Regions from separate parts of the Homo sapiens genome. Here region 1 is linked to region 2. The links are contacts of gene promoters, found by promoter capture Hi-C in blood cells and fetal thymus (Javierre and others, 2016). All regions are on one chromosome and are shown on one strand. Each heading gives the region's core, a stretch centred on a gene start or on the middle of the fragment in contact. The rest is flanking DNA. Distances are from core to core; before and after follow the strand shown. Region 1 overlaps DCAKD (dephospho-CoA kinase domain containing). Region 2 holds the start of EFTUD2 (elongation factor Tu GTP binding domain containing 2).

Region 1 (6,860 bases), core at 1,327-3,826, 130 kb after region 2:
TGCCCCTTAGGGGTTTGCAGCAAGTTAATGAGCTAGACTCAGCACAAGCGGCTCTGGGAAAGGGGGCACTAAGTATGGCCACCACAGCATTTGCATCCGTCACACTCATTTCTAGCCTTAATAGGCTTCTGGCTGCAGGATCAACACATCAGCAAGTCTGCAGGCCCTGGCAGGGAAGGCTTATGTCTGCGCTGGTCTAATTGGGTTGGGGAAGGCAGATGGGGAGGCGGGGCAAGAAGGTGTGACGCTGCCTCAGCCCTCTACCCACCTCCCACAAAGGTGCCTCGGGCCTGGCTGCAGTCCTCCTGGGACCCAGGGAGAAGCCTGATGGCAAGTGCACCTTCTGGGGCCCTCACCTCCCCCTGAGCTCCGGGAGGACTCCAGCCCAGTGTGGGAAGAAGCCAAGTCTGGGAATCTTGGTTGGTCTGGGGCATTTCAGATCAACACACTTTATTAAACACCAACAGCGGGCCAGGCTCTGCACTAAGAACACAGAGATGAATAAGACACTGTCCCTGTCCCTAGAGGGCTTACAGTCTAGTAGGAAAAACCAGGCAAGTTTCGGCTAATTACTGTACTGTTGGATTAAGGTAAAATGTTGAGGGGGAGTTGGTATCCTAGACCACCTAACCCAGCCTGGGGCTTTAGACAGTGCCTGAACTGAGAGCTAGTTGTAGGTTAAAAAAAAAAAAAAAAAAAAAAAGGAAGAAGAAATAAAAGAAAATAAAAGGTATCCCAGGCCAGGAGCAGCAGGTTGAAGGCACAGAGGCAAGAAACAGCAAGGATGGTGTACACGGAATACCAAGAGGTCCAGGCGAGAAGCAGGGGTGGCAGGCAATAAGCAGGATGTGGGAGCACTACACAAACCCTACGTGGGGAGAGGGGTCTCCCAGAAGAGGCTGGTCCTGCCTGGCTACAGCGTTACCCACGAGAGAATCCTTGCTGCTTGCTGGCAGCAAGCCATACTGGGGGGCCTGGGCCTTCAGTATAAAAAATATCTCAACCTAGGGGAGGGCCTTGTTGACTGTTTGAACATGGAAACCCTTGGTCCAACATGATTTCCCGTGGTCCACTGAGGAGGTTTAGGCCACAATGGGGTAGGTGCTTAGAGAGGATTCAAGCCCAGTGAACCCTTGGCCTCCCAGCTCTGAGGAGGGCCACAGAGCCAGTATTCCCTACCCCCACCCACAGAAATGTATAGCAGTCTCTGACTGTTGCTTTCACACACCATCACGGTTGCTGTTCTGTAGGTGCTGCTCAGGGAAGGTGGGAAGGACAGCAGGCTATTTCTTGATCTCAAATAGGATACACTCCAAAGACGGGATGGCCTGGCACAGAGGCCCAGCCCTGATTCGGAGAGTCCGTGTGTGTGTGTGTGTGTGTGTGTGTGTGTGTGTGTGTGTGTGTGTGTGTGTGGGGAGGGGGCTGAGAGGAAACAGGATGTGTTACCTGGCTTCAGCCTCCAAGGAGATAGATGGAGGCCTGGGGCTCCCTGCCTTGAGTGCCCCACTAGGCGTAAGGCAGAAGGTAGTGGGTGAGCAGGTAGAGGAGGCTGGCAATGGCAGCGAGCCCTGTGAGGACCCCAAACCTCAGCGGCAGGTACTCCAGGGAGCGCTCCAGCTCAGTGTGCAAGAGGATGACCTGGCGTTTGGTGACACTCCACTCGCCCGAGTTGTCTAGGACATGGCGGGCCATGCGGGCCTTGTCTGTCAGGGGCAGCTGGGCATTGATGCGGGCCTCTGCGTCCTTGCGGTTCAGGCTGTTCCGCCGCATCAGCCGTGCCAGCTGTGTGTCCCGGTCGCTAAGGATAGGGCAAAAGGGCACTGTAGGTCCTGCCTCCCTCTCACCCCAAGTTACAGGGATAGGCAGCCCTGCCAGGCCCAGCCTGAAACAGAGAGCATGGGGACTGGATCTTCCCTCCAACCCTACCCTGCTCTGGGCTACTTAGGGTCCCACAGCCAGGGAGGGAGGCTTGGAAGCTCACTGGCTGCCTCACACCCCACTCCACTCACTGTGAGGAACCCAGAGCTCTATGGGCTACGGAAGCCCCTTAATACAAACAAGGGGGGAACTTTGGCCACAGCTCTTTTTTTTTTTTTTTTTTTTGCCATCTGGGGTCTCTTTGCTTTGCTACTAGACCTGACATTCCCCAGTCATAAGGTGGGAAGATTTCATCACCTGGAACCAGCTACATCCTGGATCCCTGGATGGGTGACCTTTACTGAAAGGCCTATGCCTATGAGCTAGACGCTTCCTGCAGTTCCCCTGGGGGCCTGGGTCTTCAGTATCAAAAATACCTCCTTGGGCCATCACAGAGACCCCCTCTCCTTGCTGCTATACCCCTCCCCTGAACATTTAGAGTAAAAGGATTGTGCTAAGATGGTATCTCTTGTGCTTAATGCCACTGATGATGTGGGACAGACAAGCCCAAGGTGCTTCAAAGAGGATCAAGGACATGAGAATTGGTCCCCCTTAGTTGTGGGACAGGATTCAGCACTGCAGATTAGGTCGGACAATATCAAGTCTCCCAACTCCAAGAGAAATTCAAAGAATACCTCCTTCACCCACCCTGAGGTCACCATCTGGGTCCTTCCTCAGGAAACTCCCTCTCTTGCCTTGGGCTACAGTCAGTCCTCTGGAGCGGGGTTACCTCTAACACCCCTCTAGCTCTAAGAGCTACTTCAGCCCCTCAGTGAGGACAAGAGCACAAGGGGTTGCAGCAGCTGTTTTCTACCATTTGGGGTCTTTCTGCCTTGTCACGAGGCCTGAGTTTTCCCAGTTATAAAATGGAAGGGTTTGATCACTACATTTTGGTTCCTTCTTTTTTTTTTTTTTTTTTTTTTTTCCTGAGACAGTCTCACTCTGTCGCCCAGGCTGGAGTGCAGTGGCGTGATCTTGGCTCACTGCAACCTCTATCCTCCAGGTTCAAATGATTCTCCTGCCTCAGCCTCCTGAGTAGCTGGGATTACTGGCATGCGCCACTAAGCTCAGCTAATTTTTGTATTTTTTTTTTTTTTGAGACGGAGTCTCGCTTGCCCAGGCTGGAGTGCAGTGGCACAATCTCTGCTCACTGTAGCCTCTGTCTCTTGGGATCAAGAGGTCTTCCTGCCTCAGCCTCCCAAGTAGCTGGGATTACAGGCGTGCAACACCATGCCCAGCTAATTTTTGTATTTTTAGTAGAGACGGGATTTCACCATGTTGGCCAGGCTGGTCTTGAACTCCTGACCTCAGGTGATCCACCCGCCTTGGCCTCCCAAAGTGCTGGGATTACAGGCATAAGCCACCGCGCCTGGACTTTTTTTTTTTTTTTTTTTCTTTTTTTGAGATGGAGTCTTGCTCTTTCACCTAGGCTGGAGCGCAGTGGTGCGATCTCGGCTCACTGCAACCTCCGCCTCCCAGGTTCACGCCATTCTCCTGCCTCAGCCTCCCGAGTAACTGGGACTATAGGCGCCCGCCACCACACCTGGCTAATTTTTTGATTTTTAGTAGAGATGGGGTTTCACCATGTTAGCCAGGATGGTCTCGATCTCCTGACCTTGTGATCTGCCTGCCTCGGCCTCCCAAAGTGCTGGATTACAGGTGTGAGCCACCGCGCCTGGCTTTTTTATTTTTAAATAAATATAGAGACGAGGTCTTGCTGTGTTGCCTACACTGGTCTCAAACTCCTGGGCTTAAGTGATCCTCCCACCTTGGCAGTTTGGTCCCTTCTTAGGGATTCTGGGAAGCAGACCAAGTGAGGCCAAAAACAAATGCAGCCACTTGCCATGAAAATGAATTATACGAGCTATAGATTTCCTCTGTTACGGGGTCAGTGTACTGTGGCCATTGTGGGGCCAATACCCACCTCGCTGAGAACAAGGACTAAATCCAGCCTTCATCAGGGAGACCACATATCTGTGGGTGGGAGAATCTAGTGTGAGATTAGAGATGGCCTGGGGCTCCCAGTAGGTGCACATCCTCCTGAAGGTGTGGCCCAGACCACAGAGCCTCCTGGATGTGGGGCAGCACCTCCGACAGCCCTTCCTGGGGCTCAGAAATGGTCCTATTCTAGTTAGTCTAAGACTTGGTACAATTTGTTGTAATAGGATTTTTACCCACTTATTCCACAATTGACAAATTTTTCAAAAACATGAAATTGGCTGGGCACAGTGGCTCATGCCTATAATCCCAGCACTTTAGTAGGCCGAGGAGGAGGATCATTGAGCCCAGGAGCTTGAGACCAGCCTGGGCCACACAGCAAGACCCAATCTCTACAAAAAATAAAAAAATTAGTCAGATGTGATGCTGCATGCCTGCAATCCCAGCTACTCAAGAGGCTGAGGTGGAAGACTGCTTGAGCCCAGGAGTTTGAGGCTATAGTTAGCTGTGATTGTGCCACTGCACTCTAGCCTGAGCCCTGTCTCAAAAAAAAGAAACCAGCATGAAATCATGTTTTGGTATAATCACACTTCAGGAGATGTCCTAAGTAATTTCAAATGCACCAGGGGTAGTCTTTCAGTTAAAGAAATCCACAAGGGAGTCCTTATTTTTGTAAAGCCTAGATCCCTTTGGTGAAAAGCATCACCACCTCTCTGGCATCTCTCAAGAGTTATACACCCACACCCACTGAAAGCAGGGCATGAGTGGCACCCAGGACTCTGGCAAAGGCTCCTCTGGCCGGTGAGTGGGGCTGAAGGTCTCCTGGAGAGCACACACAATCAACAAAGCCCCACTCACCCACCAAAACCCATGGCCACCTCTGCTCTCGGCAAACAGACCAACCTCAAAGAACAGCACAGGAAGGGCCGGGCGCAGTGGCTCATGCCTGTAATCCCAGCACTTTGGGAGGCCGAGACAGGTAGATCACAAGGTCAGGAGTTCAAGACCAGCCTGACCAACATGGTGAAACCCTGTCTCTACTAAAAATACAAAACTTAGCCGGGCATGGTGGCGTGCGCCTGTAATCCCAGCTAATCAGGAGGCTGAGGCAGGAGAATCACTTGAACCTGGGAGGCAGAGGTTGCAGTGAGCTGAGATCGCGCCACTGTACTCCACCTTGGGTGACAGAGTGAGACTCCATCTCAATTTAAAAAAAAAAAAAAAAAGCAAAGCACAGGAAGGACAAATGGCCAGAGGTGGGCGCGGGGTCATCTGGTGAATGCACATGCAGGTGTCGGCCCCTGCTGTCTTCTCATCTACACTCTAAGATCCTTTTTTTTTTTTTGAGATGGAGTCTCGCTCTGTCGCCCAGGCTGGAGTGCAGTGGTGCGATCTCAGCTCACTCCAAGCTCCGCCTCCCAGGTTCACACCATTCTCCTGTCTCAGCCTCCCGAGTAGCTGGGACTACAGGCGCCCACCATGATGCCCAGCTAATTTTTTTTGTATTTTTAGTAGAGACAGGGTTTAACCGTGTTAGCCAGGATGGTCGCGATCTTCTGACCTCATGATCCGCCCACCTCGGCCTCCCAAAGTGCTGGGATTACAGGTATGAGCCACCACACCCGGCCTTTTTTTTTTTTTTTTTGAGACGGAGTTTCATTCTTGTTGCCCAGGCTGGAGTGCAATGGTACGATCTTGGCTCATTGCAACCTCTGCCTCCTGGGTTCAAGTGATTCTCCTGCCTCAGCCTCCCAAGTAGCTGGGATTACAGGCATGCACCACCATGCCTGGCTAATTTTTGTATTTTTAGTAGAGATGGGGTTTCTCCATGTTGGTCATGCCGCTCTCGAACTCCTGACCTCAGGTGATCCACCTGCCTCGGCCTCCCAAAGTGCTGGGATTATAGGCATGAGCCACTGCACCCAGCCTTTTTTTTGAGATGGAGTTTTGCTCACTCTTGTCGCCCAGGCTGGAGTGCAATGGTGCAATCTCTGCTCACTGCAACTTCCACCTCCTGGGTTCAAGCGATTCTCTGGCCTCAGCCTCCCAAGCGGCTGAGATTACAGGTGCCCGCCACAACACCGGGCTAGTTTTTATATTTTTAGTAGAGATGGGGTTTCACCATGTTGGCCAGGCTGGTCTCGAACTCCTGACCTCAGGTAATCCACCCACCTCGGCCTCCCAAAGTGCTGGGATTACAGGCGTGAGCCACTGCACCCGGCCTCTAAGATCCTTTAAAAAAAATGTTTTTATCCCTAAATACAAAGCTCCAATCGTGCTACTAAGGCAAAGAGAATTCCAGGTCTTCGTGGGGTTTGCCTGACCTTAGTTAGCCTCTCAAACAGGGAATGAAGAACCCAAAGAGGCTGCAGGTTTACTCACATAAGGCAGCACGGCCCAGTGCAGGAGCTGAGAGGATGCCTGCGTCCCTGCATTGGGCTCAAGGGATTCAGACTGGGCTTTCAACGACAGCCCATGGGGACCCAGGGGGAAAGGCAGGGGGATTTTCAGGGCACTGAGCACCACAGGCTCCGCCTCCAGCGTGCTGGGAGCCTCCAATGCCTTAGGCCCTTGAGGGCCAACCTATGCCCAAAATACCAGCAGAGCCAAGTGCCCACCTATGTGTCTGCTGTACTTGTGGGTGGCATCCGGGAAGCTTCTGGGTAGCAGAGATACCCTGCGGACTCATCTACTTTCACCCCACTGGGACAGGGACTCATTTTCCCCCCACAGGTTGATCCTCCTGTTTGTCAAACCTGGATTCTGGTTGGCTCCGTGTCCTGGGGAATTCTGAGAACAAAGTGCCTTCCTTAGCTGGGCTGACAGTCCCTTCCACGAAACCTTCTGTTCGTAACAGGTGTTGCCAAAGGGTGACCCTGGACACATTCTGTAACTGCCCCCTCTTTAATTTTATCTTCAGTAATAGGAATATCAACACCTGTCCTGACCACCTCCCACTGAGAGGTAAACTGTGCAAAGTAATAAAGGTGCTACAGGAGGAA
Region 2 (7,636 bases), core at 2,773-5,272:
GGGGTGGAGGTTGCAGTGAGGCGAGATGGCACCACTGCACTCCAGCCTGGGAGACAGAACAAGACTCCATCTCAAAAAAAAAAAAAAAAAAAAAGTTTCACTGGAAAACAGCCATGCATATTCATTTGCATCATTTACAGTTGCCTTCACACTGTAATAGCAGAGTTGAATAGTTGAGACTGAAACCATATGGCTCACAAAGCCTAAAATATTATCCAGTCCTTAATAGAAAAAGTTTGCCAACCTCTCCCTCACCATGTGTAATTCCTACAAACAAGAACATTCTCCTACATAACCACAATACAACCATCAAAATCAGAAAATTGATATTCACACATTACTACCACCTTCTTTACAGATCCCATTCAAGTTTCACAGATTGTTCCAATAATACCTTACACACCTAAGGATCCAATCCAGGATCATGTTTGCATTTGGTTGTCATGTCTCTAGTCTCTTTGGATCTACAATCTTCAGTCTTTGGATCTACAATCTTCAGTCTTTCCTTCCAAGGACTGTCATGAAATCCTTAAGGATGTCCCTTGATTTGAGGTTGTCTGATGTTACCTTATGATAATATTCAGGTTATGCGTTTTGGGCAGGAATATCATAGAAGTGATGCTGTGTTCTTCTCAATGCATTTCGTATCAGGTGATACATGATTTCAATTTGCCCCATTAGTGGTAACGTTAACTTTGATCACTTCATTAAGGTGATGTTTGCCAGGCCTCTCCATTGTAAAGTTACTCATTTTCCCTTTGTAATTAAGTAGTGTTTTGTGGGTTTTCTCCACTTCAATTACTGAAATTCTATTCAAAGAAACAGTTCAAATGCCACCACCTCCTTCAAGCTTTCCTAGCTCCTCAATTTCTCATTCCTCTATCCTACTAGAGCTTTTTGCACCTTTATCAGTATTTAATTTTGTCTTAAATAGTAGTTAACTGGCTGGGCACAGTGGCTCATGCCTGTAATCCCAGCACTTTGGCAGGCCAAGATGGGCGGATCATGAGGTCAGGAGATAGAGACCATCCTGGCTAACACAGTGAAACCCCGTCTCTACTAAAAATACAAAAAATTAGCCAGGTGTGGTGGCACACACCTGTAGTCCCAGCTACTCAGCAGGCTGAGGCAGGAGAATCACTTGAATCCAGGAGGCAGAGGTTGCAGTGAGCTGAGATCGCACCACTGCACTTCAGCCTGGCTGACAGAGTGAGACTCCGTCTCGAAAAAAATAAACAAAATAAATAAACAAATAGTAGTTACTAATTACCATCACCAACTATAGTTTATAAGCAATAAATAACAGACTAGAGCATCAGGGCTCTGGAGTTGGAAGACTTAGATTCAAATCCCAACTTTGTCACCAACAACTATGTAACTTGAGGTAAGTTACTTCATCTCTTCCAACCTGATTCCTATTCTTCAACTGGAAAATGGAATGAATAATCCTCACTGAATAAATGGTTATGAGGATTAAATAAAACACCCTGTGTAAAGAATTTACCAGAGTCCAGCTGGGTGCAGTGGCTCACGCCTGTAATCCCAGCACTTTGGGAGGCTGAGGTGGGTGGATCACGAGGTCAGGAGATCGAGACCATCCTGGCTAACACGGTGAAACCCTGTCTCTACTAAAAATACAAAAAATTAGCCAAGTGTGGTGGTGGGCGCCCGTAGTCCCAGCTACTGGGGAGGCTGAGGCAGGAGAATGGTGTGAACCCAGGAGGCGGAGCTTGCAGTGAGCGGAGACAGCGCCACTGCACTCCAGCCTGGGTGACAGAGAGAGACTCCGTCTCAAAAAAAAAAAAAAAAAAAAAGAATTTACCAGAGTCCTAGGCTCAATAAACGTTAGCTAGCATTATTTTTTGCCATCCTTGATCATGAGAACCCTGTGTTCCATGCACCTGCTTCTTCTCTTCACTTCTTTTATGATACTAAATTTAATTTTAAAATAATACCAAAAAGTGGCAAGAACAGTACAAATAACTTTCTTTTCCCCAAATATTTGACAGTATGCTGCTGACACAATGCCTCTTCACCTCCTAATACTTTAGAGCAAGAGTTGACAAACTCTGACCTGTGGCCAAATCTGGCCCCTCCAACTGTTTTTGCATGGTCCTCCAGCTAAGAATGCATTTTACATTTTTATTTTTTTATTTTTTTGAGACGGAGTCCCGCTCTGTTGCCTAGGCTGGAGTGCAGTGGCACGATCTCGACTCACTGCAACCTCCGCCTCACAGGTTCAAGCGATTCTCCTGCCTCAACCTCCCAAGTAGCTGGGATTACAGGCACCCGCCATCACACTTGGCTAATTTTTGTATTTTTAGTAGAGACGGGGTTTCAACCATGTTGGCCAGGCAGTCTCGAACTCTTGACCTCAGGTGATTAGCCCACCTCGGCCTCCCAAAGTGCTGAGATTACAGGTGTGAGCCACCGCACCCGGCCACATTTTACATTTTTAAATAATTGAGAAAAAAGTACCAATGCTAACACAGCCAATAGCCAAGACAGCACCTTGCATAAGTAGGAACTGGATAAATGTTAACTGAATGGGATGTTTAATTTTAAGATGCTGATATTTCTTGGATTAGACTGATACCTCCAACTCCCTCAATGCCACCTGCTGGGTGCTGAATGTAGAGAGAGAATTGGAGCTCCAAGGACCAATAATTAAATGTAAATTATTATGGAAACTTTCACATGCATATTCTTTTTACTTCTAAAAAGCTACTATCGCATTTATGCTTATCTCATTCTCCCAAGACCCCAGTCAAGGGATTGAAGAAATTATTTATTTATTTTATATATATTTTTTGAGACAGAGTTTTGCTCTTGTTGCCCAGGCTGGAGTACAACGGCACGATCTCAGTTCACTGCAACCTCCGCCTCCTGGTTTCAAGCGATTCTCCTGCCTCAGCCTCCCGAGTAGTTGGGACTACAGGAGTGCACCACTACGCCTGGCTAATTTTTTTGTATTCTTAGTAGAGATGGGTTTTCACCATGTTGGCCAGGCTGGTCTCGAACTCCTGACCTCAGGTGATCCGCCCGCGTCTTTCTCCCAAAGTGCTGGGATTACAGGCGTGAGCCACCGCGCCCGGCCGATTGAAGAAACTGTTATAGAAAGCTGTTCATGGAACAAGCCAAGCTCATTTCTGCCTCAGGGCCACTGCACTTGCCTTTCTCTTTGTCCAAAACGCTCTCCCCTTTGATATTTTTCACCTTGTTCCTTTATTTCAATCAAGTCTCCACTAAAATGTCATCTTCTCTGTCACTCTAAAAAGTCCCCCATACATACTCTCCAACTTCCCACTTTCACTGTTTTATTGCTATTCACAAATGTTATACATTTATCACTAGCTGACTTGTATCTAGTTGTTTACTGTTCATTTCCCCAACTACAATTGAAGCAAAGACTTTGTTCACTTAGTACTGTGCCTAGCATAGACTAAGCCCTCAATAAGTATTTACTGAACTAATGAATGACTCTAACAAGGTACACAGAATATAGCTGATTTGCCCACAGTTACACAAAACTAGCGACTCATGGTAACAAACCTCACTGCCGCTTCCCGCTACAATGCAGGAGCTCAGAGGACTTCGGAGGGAACTTGGCAAAGAACGGCTGAAAGCGGCACGGATAGAAGAGGAAGTGAGCGAGGGGACTGGACAGTTAGAGCACCACTCCTACCTAGCGATACGATTTTACGGACTGAGGCTATAGAGGCAGCCCCGAAATCGAGGTGTGTGCGTGTGTGCGCGCTTCGGAAGCCTTGGGAAGGCACGAGGACGACAGGGTCTTCCATTCTTTTTCCCGCTCCAGGCCTCAATTTACCGATCCGTAAAGCGAAAGGGGCCAATAGCATATAAGGCCCCTTCCAGATCTGACGCTTTTTAATTTCCTATCCCACCTGGAGCAACCCTTCCGTGCCGCTGACCCGCTTCAACTTACCTCTCGCCTGCTCAGCTAAGAGTTCCCAGGCCGCTGCCGGAGATCGTGCTTCCGCCCCACGCCGAGGAAACGCCTGCGCCCGCCGCCAGGAAGGACCCCGCAGACGCCGCTGTCGCCTTTCTGCCCGGGAGGACAACCCTCTGCCTGAGGACCAGTTCCGAGGTATGCCCGCCGCGGACTGGCAAGGCGGAGTAGCGGGTCCCCAAGACGAGTAGCCCAAGACGTGGGCTGCTCCAAAGAGGGTGAGAGCTGAGGATGAACGAATCTGATCAGGCGCCTCGGGACCACCCTGAAAATGGGGGGAGGGGCCTTCGGGCAGATCACGTGGTCAGGCTGTTAGCGCAGTTGCTAGGCAACCACAGCTGCGGGCGTGGTCTGCGCGGGGTTGCCCTCCTGTTCTGGTTTATCAGGGGATCCCCAAAGAAAGCAAGGGGACCAAGGCCGGGACTGCTGGGGTGAAGGTCCGGGAGGCTGAGTAAGGGGACGGAAGGGTTAGTTCTATGTATTAAATGCCTGGGGAGGGCTGAGAACTGGACACCTGATTTCGGTTACTGGCCACCCCAGCCCCTTCTTGGCGTTCAGATTCCCTACGTTGGGGTAGGGTGGCTATGGGATTGGTTGGGGACTTCCTGCTTCCTTGCGCTAGGGCTGTTGGTGATGACCCCGCCACAAAATCTAGCTCAACTCACTAGGAGTTTGCAGTTCAGAGAGGTCCCACAAGTAAATGCCAGAGCCACGACTAGAACCCACGTAGAGAATCTCTCTGCAGTGGCTCACGCCTGTAATCCCAGCACTTTGGGAGGCCGAGGCGCGCGGATTACTTGAGGTCAGGATCGAAAATTGCTTGAACCCCGGAGGCAGAGGTTGCAATGAGCCAAGATCGCGCCACTGCACTCCAGCCTGGGCAACAGAGCCAGAAAAAAAAAAAAAGAAAAGAATATCTCTGTAGAAATGATCAGTCAGCCTCAGATATGCAGAAACTACAGAAGTACAGTGATAGAACTAAAGGCATTGCCCAGGTACCTAGGGACCTCTGTTCCAGCCCTGGGCTGGACAGAGGGATTTGGGGATGGGGTCATTGAGCTCCTTCCTTTGCCCCTTCTACTTGATTTCCTGCTCAGTCATTGCATCTGGTTTGGGTGAAAGTCTCCTTCCTCATTAAAGACATTCAATGAAGAATGAAACTTTATCCCCGAGCTCAAGGGTAACTAACAAGAGTTCTGCCTTTGTGTGAGGTCCCCTGTCGAAACGACTTGCTGTAGAACAATCCTATGGGGGAAGAGTGAAGAAACTGAATTCTGAGATCCCAATGCCTCCTCGACTGAAGCACCAAAATTAAAAATATTTTTAGAGGCAAAGAGCAAAATTAAGACAGAACTCCAAATTGAAAGTCAGGACTCTGTATTCTATTTTCAGGGACAAGTCTTGTGTAAGTCCTCACTGTGAAATTCAACTTGTCTTTGTAAAATAGAAAACCAGATTTTTGTAACACCTCCCAATCTGAGTGACATGATGTCCAGAGTGCTTTGGGGTCATTTTGTGTTCTGGTGAATAATTCAGAGGTACCCTCTTTCCCCTGATATTGACTGTCCACTGACATGTATTCCCTTTGCCTTCCCAGGCACAGGCCATGGAAAGGAATGACATCATCAACTTCAAGGCTTTGGAGAAAGAGCTGCAGGCTGCACTCACTGCTGATGAGAAGTACAAACGGGAGAATGCTGCCAAGTTACGGGCAGTGGAACAGAGGGTGGCTTCCTATGAGGAGTTCAGGTTGGCTCACTGCCATTTTTCTCAGGCCCTCCTGTTATGGTGGATTATAGTAGTTAACTCTGAAATCAAACCATTCTGGGCTTCAGTCCTGGCCCCACCGTCTACTGTTTGATCTTATGCAATTTCCTTAACTTCTCTGAGTCTCAATTATTTATCTGTAGAACAGTAACTGTTATAATTAAATGAGTTCTTGCACATAAGACTGAGCAAGTGTCTGACACATGTGAGGTGCTTGAAAGCAGTCAGCTATCGCTGTTGTTATTATTATGGTCATATTGGTCCGTAACAGGTTTATCCTATACCATGCAAAGTCTAGCTGCCTCACACCCACAGACACAGCATTAAGTCCATTGCCTAATTTCTGTCCTTTGCCTACAGGGGTATTGTCCTTGCATCACATCTGAAGCCACTGGAGCGGAAGGATAAGATGGGAGGAAAGAGAACTGTGCCCTGGAACTGTCACACTATTCAGGGAAGGACCTTCCAGGATGTGGCCACTGAAATCTCCCCGGTAGGTGAGGCCCTGCCCCTTTAGTCCAGCAGGATTCTCTGCCCTAAAGCTTCAATCCTGTTTTTTCATTTTGTTTTGTTTTGTTTTGTTTTTTTAACCACACATACCTCTTCTTTATTTGTCATGTTAAACCAACAGAGATAGGTTTCTGCCTCCAATCCCAGAAAGAAAAACAAACAGCAGATGGCAAAGCTGAGTTGAAGTGGGCAGAATGAGTCAGAAAGTTGGGCTAGGAAGGTCGGCTTCCCTTAGTCCTTTGACTTTCATTCTCAGATCAGAATTGGGATGCTCTGCCTCTGGGTTGTATGGTGTCTAGTGTAATGATCCTGTGGCAGTGTTGAGAGAGAGACCCCAACATTCAGATCCTTGAGTTCCTTTCTCTCTTCCTGAGATTTCCAATCAACCCATCCACCCGACTTACAGTAAACCCTGACTTACTCTTGAAGACCAGAGCTATGTCTCCATTCATGAGTAGGAAAATTCCAGTATAAATGAGAATCTCAAATCATGGCGTGGATTCCTTGGGGCCCTCCCTGTTTCATCCCCAGTTTCCTCATCTGAAAATGAGGCCGCCAAGGACCACAGCTTTCCCAGTGCTCAGACAGTAGTGAGATGAAGACAGTAAGATGAAGAGCTACAGGCTCCCCTCCCTGTCACTGTTGCAGAACAGCTGGAAGAGCTCCTGACTCCCTTTCCTTCCTTTGTGGTCCAGGAGAAAGCCCCCCTCCAGCCCGAGACGTCTGCTGACTTCTATCGTGATTGGCGACGACACTTGCCAAGTGGGCCAGAGCGCTACCAGGCTCTACTGCAGCTTGGGGGTCCAAGGCTCGGCTGCCTCTTCCAGACAGATGTGGGATTTGGACTTCTTGGGGAGCTGCTGGTGGCACTGGCTGATCACGTGGGGCCGGCTGACCGGGCAGCGGTGCTGGGGATCCTATGCAGCCTGGCGAGCACTGGGCGCTTCACCCTGAACCTAAGCCTGCTGAGCCGGGCAGAGAGAGAGAGCTGCAAGGGCTTGTTTCAGAAGCTGCAAGCCATGGGCAACCCCAGATCCGTGAAGGAGGGGCTCAGCTGGGAGGAGCAGGGTCTGGAGGAGCAGTCTGGTGGGCTCCAGGAGGAGGAGAGGCTCCTGCAGGAGCTGCTGGAGCTGTACCAGGTTGACTGATGCGGCAAGCTACCCTCAGAGGTCCCAGTGGTCACTGGAGGCAGTTTTTTGGTTGTTGTCTTGGGGGTTCTGCAGGACCATAATAAGAAACCCACACCTGGTTCCCTTCTCAACTTGGAATTTTCAGAGCAAAAACAGGAATCAAGTCTTCCCCACTTCTCCAGTCCCTCAGTGTCTCGCTGTTTTGAACTGTGTGTATCCATGGACAGTCAAGAGCTCAGGAAGTTGAGAGCGGTTTTGT

What was found. The method cuts DNA at HindIII sites, captures the fragments that hold promoters and counts their contacts. A CHiCAGO score of 5 or more calls a contact.
Region 1: a fragment that was not itself captured here is called in contact with the fragment with the promoter of EFTUD2 in region 2 in 10 of 17 cell types (endothelial precursors, M0 macrophages, naive CD4 T cells and 7 more); the score reaches 7.1 in endothelial precursors.

What each region holds. Positions count from the first base shown.
Region 1 is chr17:45,022,924-45,029,783 of GRCh38, forward strand. It overlaps DCAKD (dephospho-CoA kinase domain containing), which reads right to left. Exons shown (of 5, transcript NM_001288655.2): 5 at 421-1,801. The coding sequence ends at 1,510. Among named protein-coding and RNA genes, the nearest start is that of DCAKD, 25 kb to the right of the region's middle. The HindIII fragment of the contact is 7,872 bases long and covers 1-6,512 here.
Region 2 is chr17:44,895,423-44,903,058 of GRCh38, forward strand. It overlaps EFTUD2 (elongation factor Tu GTP binding domain containing 2), which reads right to left and starts at 4,023. Exons shown (of 28, transcript NM_004247.4): 1 at 3,947-4,023. It overlaps DNAAF19 (dynein axonemal assembly factor 19), which reads left to right and starts at 4,307. Exons shown (of 4, transcript NM_213607.3): 1 at 4,307-4,437; 2 at 5,568-5,719; 3 at 6,098-6,230; 4 at 6,943-7,636. The coding sequence starts at 5,577. The coding sequence ends at 7,395. The HindIII fragment of the contact is 5,429 bases long and covers 849-6,277 here.